Linked DNA regions of Homo sapiens: region 1 is linked to region 2. Evidence: promoter capture Hi-C in 16 types of primary human blood cells and fetal thymus (Javierre and others, 2016). All regions are on one chromosome and are shown on one strand. The core of a region is centred on a gene start or on the middle of the fragment in contact, and the rest is flanking DNA. Distances in the headings are between cores, read along the strand shown. Region 1 holds the start of RAB36 (RAB36, member RAS oncogene family). Region 2 holds the start of GUCD1 (guanylyl cyclase domain containing 1).

Region 1 (3,225 bases), core at 108-2,607, 1.4 Mb before region 2:
ACAGCTAAAGGAGGAGTTCAGGGTGATCTCTAGCTCCTGCCAAATCCCCAAATCCAAATTAGTAAGTGACCCCACAGCTTAATCTTCCCTTCTCCTAAATCCCATTGGCACACTCCCTTCCCCTAATTCTCTATTTACTTCTCTGCTTCCCGCAGTGGACTCCAATTTCCCTGAGGGTGGACACCATGTCCGTTCTCTTTCCTTGTCTCCCCAGTGCTAGGCATATACCAGGAAGCTTTCAGTACATGTAGGACAAATGAATAGTTAATGGACTTGAATCAAGCTTTACAGTATAAAAGCACTTTCACCATCTCAGGTGATCCATTGAAATAGATAGTTGCGTTTATTTTATAGTTGAGTAAACTGAGGTGCGGAAGGTGGAACAACTCACCTAAGTTCACCCCCTAAGCCTCAACCTTAGCAGTGAAACTCACTAAAAGACATTAAACAGAGCCAGGTGTGGTGGCCCTTGCCTGTAGTCCCAAGGACTGGGGAGGCTGAGGCGGGAGGATTCCTTGAGCCTAGGAGTTCGAGTCCAGCCTGGACAACATAGCAAGACTCCATCTCTTTAAAAAAAAAAAAAAAAGACATCAAACACCAGCCTCCAGCACACTTAGCTTTGAATTGAAGATGACTGAGTTAGATCTGTGTACCAAGGCTTCCATATTGTGATGCAGAAAAGTTAAGGAGCTGAATTAAGTAGGTTCTCAAACTGAACCCCGGACTTCGAAGCTGGTTCCACGGTTTTATAAGGGCCACAAGAGGCCATCTAGCCCAAAACAGCTAACTTTCCAAACCGAAACTAGTTCAGAGGAAATCACTGACTCAGGTCAGCTTTTTATTAAGGAAATTAATTTTGTACCGTGAGCTCTAGAAGCCAGGCATATGATATTCAGACAGCACTGGATTCAGAACTATGCAGACTAAGGTCAGTAGATGGTAGGCAGGTCTATCTTCTGCAGCTGCAGGGTGCTTGACTCCAATTAAACATCAATACCACATCAGGAGCTCTTATGCCATAACCGCCCAACCTCTCCCAGCCGAGCTGATCACCAGAACCTGCGCGAATCTCTCCACGGTCAGCCCCACCCAGGGCTCAGGCTCCGCCCCCGGGCCTCCATAGCCCCGCCCACCGCCCACCCATCCAGCACCGCCCTTGTTGTCATGGTGATCTCCGGCTCTCCAGGGTGTCCAGGAGTCTCTCTGCTGCCAGCCCCGCCCAGACTCCAGGCAGGTTCTCGTTGCTATGGTGATCGCCGGTGCAAGCTGGATGCTTGGACGCGCCGCTGCCAGTCCAACGCAGACCCCGCCCACGACGTCGACGATTCGTGTAGCCCGCAGGTCCCGCGTGGCTCTCGTTGCCATGGTGATCGCCGCCGCTGGCTCAGGCGGACCAGGCCGCGCGGAGCCCCAGCTTTCACAGCCATCGCTGGTGAGTCAGCTCGCCCACTCTGTCCGACCCTCCCGGTCACCCAACCCCGTGCTGGCACATCCCGAGGCCAGGGCCGCGAGGGCACAGCGTCCGCGCCCACTTCCCGCCCCTATAACTTGAAAGCGGCCTGCGGCCCCGGGGCGTCCTCATTTCCGGAGCGCAAACTCTGGGCCAGGCCCGCGCTGGTTGTGGAGGAGAGCCAGGTCAGATGCGGGAAGACAACCGGACTCCGCCAGGACCACCCCAGCCCAGCCTGGAGAGGAGTCCGGACAGAAAAAGGAGACAGAGGGGCTGTTGAGGAGGCTCGAGGAGTCAGAGGCCTGGTGAAGTGAGGGTTTTCAGGGAAAAGGCCTAGTTGGCTGAAAGTTAAGGCCCCCAGGCCCACCTAGAGCCTTCGTCCTTTGCAGACTGGGAGCAGGAGACCCCTCCCCACTCTACTTCCACTGCCTGAGCTGTGCCATGCCTCACAGCCCAGTAAGGTAAGCTCAGAGGGGAGCTCCTCCTTGGTAGACACCTGTCAAGGGGAGACCCAGGTCTTCTGACTCCCAGGCAGGGTGGGGCAGGCCTGGTTCCCCCATACCATGCTGCCTGCTGTATGCAGATTGAGAGAAATGGCCTCTGCCCCATATTCCTGACAGAGAGGGAAGCCTGGATCTGGTTTTATTTATAATTCTTGAGACAAGGTCTTACTCTATCACCCAGGCTGGAGTGCAGTGGCACCTTCACGGTTCACTGCACCCTTGACCTCCCAGGCTCAAGCATTCCTCCCACCTTCCTCCCAAGTAGCTGGGACTGCAGGCACAGGCCACCATGCCCTGCTAATTTTTTTGGTTTTTTTTTGTAGAGACTGAGGTTTCACTTTGTTGCCCAGGCTGGTCTCAACCTCCTGGGCCCAAGTGATCCTCCCACCTTGGCCTCCCAAAGTGCTGGGATTACAGGCATGAGCCACTGCACCCAGCCTGGATCTGATGAAAAGTTAGGTGGAAACTCATGGGTGAATCCCCAGGTATTTGCACAGCTCCTTAACTGTCTTTCTCCTGGTTGGGTCCACAGGACTGTGGAAGAATGAGGTCCTCCCTGACACCTTTGGGGCCCCCTGTGAGCCGCGACCGTGTCATCGCCAGCTTCCCTAAGGTAGAGAGTCATTACGTCTGCAGTGCTCTCCTGGCCCTGCAGCCACATCAGCTCTCCCCACTCTACACTCATGCCTAGAAGTAAAGCAGGTGAATCAAGGAGGTCTGTCCATTGTCAGATTTACCTTGAGGAGCTGGGAGACTGGTCACTGACTGCCCAAGGTGGGACCGCAAGTTAATGGTGACACTGGGCAGCAGTGTGGCCTGGAGGTTATAAGGGCTGGGATTTTGCAGCCAGACAGTCCTTGATGTGAATCCTTCATTCTGATTCTGTCATTAAGCTGTGTGGCTGTGGGCAAATTACTCAACCTCTCAGAGCCACTGTTACATGAAGGTAATTCCTCTCATATTGGGTGCCTGGCTCATGGTATGCAGGAGCTCCCCTGCAGTCATAGTTGCTGTTGTTCTCATCATCGTTGTTGTTATCAAAACAGCATTCCAGTTCCATGACCCCAAATCCAGGGCTCTCTCCTCTTGCCATTCCGCCTCTATGAGCTTGAAAACTCACAGCTCTCTTGTGTCTGTATTAAAATCCAATATTAATTGCAGCAGGGAATACAAATTGAGTACAACCTCCATAGGGGGCAGTGGACAATATTTACCAATATAGAAGATGACCCTGCCCTCTAAGATCCAGCCATTCTGTTTCTTTTTTCTTTT
Region 2 (2,984 bases), core at 169-2,668:
CAGCTCTCTCTCAGAGACTCAGCTGCGCCTCCTCCTCTTGCCCTGCGCTCTAGAACTCCTTGATCCTGAGGCCTGGCAGGCCCCACAGGGCCATCTCCAGCCTCGGCAAGGGCGGATCGGACCTAGAGGTGCTCATGTTGGGGGTGATAAGGTTAGGCGAGGCCTTGGCATCTGTCCCCATAACAGCTTTAGCCTTCTAAACACAAAGCCACAGCCAGACGTTGCTGCCTGGAGCCAAAGGGCTGCCTGGAAGGCCCTGGCCTGAGCTCAGTTAGTGGCTGTCACTAAGGAAGGCAAGCAGTGCACTAGCCTTTAATACTTAACCCATCTCAGACTCAGTCTGCTCAGCTGCAAAAGTGCAAATCACAGTGGGCACCTACTTCACTGGTTCGTTATGAGGATTAATGAGGCACTGCATGTAAACAACTGCACGCAGCGCGCGCCTGCCTCATAGAACACTCCCTGTGAATGTAAGCCATTCCTCCTCTGAGGCTCAGGAAAGGCAAGTATCTTGTCTCAGACCACAGGGCTAGACAACTGGAGGAGGAGGGTTGTAAATCCCCCACCAACTCCACACAGCAGACACAAAAGGGAACACTCCCTGGGAGTGACACCTGAAGGTCAGGGTCCCACATGCTGTTGACCTCTTCCACAGTTGGCACTTCACTTCAGAGTTTACTAGCTAGAACTCCGTTTGTCATCAACCCCGCGCCTTCAGCAGGACAGGAATCACGTCTTCCCCCTCCCCTACGTCTTGGGCAAGCAAACTAACGGCCAAGACATTGAATACCAGTCCGGGTCTCCGCCCCAAAGGGGCTCAGGCTACCGCGTGGCAGAGAGAACGAAAGTGAAGAACAAGAGCAAGACAAAACGCCGAGTCTCGGAGGCCAGGGCACTGGCCCTTCCATTGCTCGGTGCTCTCGGCCAGTTTCCTGCCCTTCCCAGCCTCAGTCCTCCACGGTTTCCCAAGGCATGGGAGCTCCCAAGGCGGCTCCAGCAGGACTTTTCGCTTCTGGGGAAGGTGGTGCCCCTGCTACCCGGACCTTCCCACCATGCTGACAAGGGTCGCAATCCTGCGAGTGTCAGGAAACCCCCACTGACTGGAACCAGGCGGGTGTGGGGGCGAGGCGGGAGTCGGCCCAAGGTCGCGCGACTGGACCCTGCCCCGCGCTAGGGAGGGGTCCCTTTCGTTCCTAGGGTGAAGACTGGGCCCACAGAGAGGCACTGACCGGGCTCGAGCGGCGGCCCCGCTGCCTCCGCCTCCGTCCTCATGACCCGGGCGGCGCGGGGCGCCCATGGCCCCGGCCCAGAGCGGGCTACAGCTTCCGCTTCGGCTGGGGCGGGAGGGCGGTCGGTGCGTGTCGAGTTCCTTCTCCGCCACCGCCGCCGCTGCGGAGGAGAGAACGGGAGGCGGCGGCTGGGCCGCCCCAAGCGCCGCCCCAGCCCTTCCAGGTCTCGAATCTGGAGGCCCCGCCCCCTCCTTAGGCCCCGCCCCAAACTTTGATCTTAGAGGTCCCCAGCCTCTTGATTTAAGTCTGCTCCGGCCATTCGCCGCCTCAGCGTTGAGTGGCCCCACCCTCTCGCCCAATCCTCGCGCAGACGCGCAGCTCACCAGGACGCGGGCCCCGGAAGCCCCGCCCCTTTCTTTGAGCCCCGCCCCAAAGCTCGTGCATTTCCTGAATAGAGGCTCGTCCCTTCGGCAAGCCCCGCCTCTGCCGGGTCCCGCTCTTTTGCCAGTCCTAGGTGTAAGCCCTGATCCCGCCCAGTGCATCCCCGAGGCCCCAAGCAACTCTCCTCCAACTGTCTTTAGGGATAACCCTGAGCGGGCAGCCGCTCTACTCTATACCTAACTTTATCCGTACCAGATACCTAGCCTCACTCAGGGCCCCCCTTACCTGGCGGTGCCGGGATCAACAAATGAAATTGTGACGGGAAGTCCTGGCCCTTGGCCCAACCTCCTGCTGTCCCCGGTCTGAGGGCCCAAGCCCCGCGTCTCCGCCTTGCCGTCCAGCCTGTCCTTGGTGTGGGGTGCTTGGAAGTGTGAGCACCCTCTCTGGCTCTTTGCCGGCCCCAAGGGTCGTTGCGGCGGCCCCCGGGCCCAGTCATCAGCCCTCTTTTCCGGTGCCGGAACTATCGTACTGGTGCCCTAGTTTCCCAGCCGGCAGGCGGAGTGAGGAGGAAGCGGAGGCGAGACCGCGCTCAACACTGGGGAAAGGAAGGAGGCGGGCCCTGCGCGCAGCATTTTGGGAAAGAGTGGAATTCTGGGTGTTAGGCCCGCCATTCGCTTGACTCACGCCTTCGCCGTAGCATCTTTCGCAGCGGACCGAAGAGAAGAAAAGTAGGCCAGAGCCGGTGAGGCTGGGGACGGGCGAGGGGAGGTCGAGGCGCCTGTGAGGGGCCAGGGGCTGGAGAAAGACTTGCTGCATGGAACTCTGCGGGGCTCGGGGAGGGAAGAAAGCGGGAAGCTTGGGCCACCCAAACATCAGCGTCGCCTCACTAGCTCCTGGAAGTAAGTTCATTAGCTTTCCCCTCAACGTGCATGCTTCTCACATTCTGTATCTCTCCAGGTGAGTGTTTTTCAAAGCTTCCAGGCAGTAATCTCGAAGTCATTTCTGATTGACTATCTCCTTCCCCCAAATCCTATGAGTTTTTTTTTGTTTTTTTTTTTTTAAGTAGAGACGGGGTTTCACCATGTTGCCCTGGCTGGTCTCGAACTCCTGGGCTCAAGGGATCCACCGGCCTCGGCCTTCCAAAGTGCTGGGATTACAGGCGTGAGCCACCGCGCCCAGCCGGTCATTTTTTAAAAAGTTCTTTGTATCTCTGCCCCAGTCCCCTTTCAGGCAATGGTCCCCTCATGCTTTCCACACTGTTGCAGCAGTTTTAACTGTTGCAGAAGTTTTAACAAGTTTCTCTGCTTCTAAACCTTACGTTCTATCCATTTTGTAAATAAATGCTGCTATCTTTTCATTGCGTCATTCTTTACA

Evidence for each region. The method cuts DNA at HindIII sites, captures the fragments that hold promoters and counts their contacts. A CHiCAGO score of 5 or more calls a contact.
Region 1: the fragment with the promoter of RAB36 here is called in contact with the fragment with the promoter of GUCD1 in region 2 in 1 of 17 cell types (non-activated CD4 T cells); the score reaches 5.3 in non-activated CD4 T cells.

What each region holds. Positions count from the first base shown.
Region 1 is chr22:23,144,120-23,147,344 of GRCh38, forward strand. It overlaps RAB36 (RAB36, member RAS oncogene family), which reads left to right and starts at 1,358. Exons shown (of 11, transcript NM_004914.5): 1 at 1,358-1,432; 2 at 2,486-2,566. The coding sequence starts at 2,498. It also overlaps a transcript of RSPH14 not described here. RefSeq lists a silencer at 1,111-1,180. The HindIII fragment of the contact is 8,574 bases long and covers 282-3,225 here.
Region 2 is chr22:24,553,720-24,556,703 of GRCh38, forward strand. GUCD1 (guanylyl cyclase domain containing 1) reads right to left here and starts at 1,419. Exons shown (of 6, transcript NM_001284254.2): 1 at 1,230-1,419. The coding sequence starts at 1,272. SNRPD3 (small nuclear ribonucleoprotein D3 polypeptide) reads left to right here and starts at 2,280. Exons shown (of 4, transcript NM_004175.5): 1 at 2,280-2,352. RefSeq lists a silencer at 1,168-1,527 and an enhancer at 1,988-2,087. The HindIII fragment of the contact is 4,396 bases long and covers 1-2,463 here.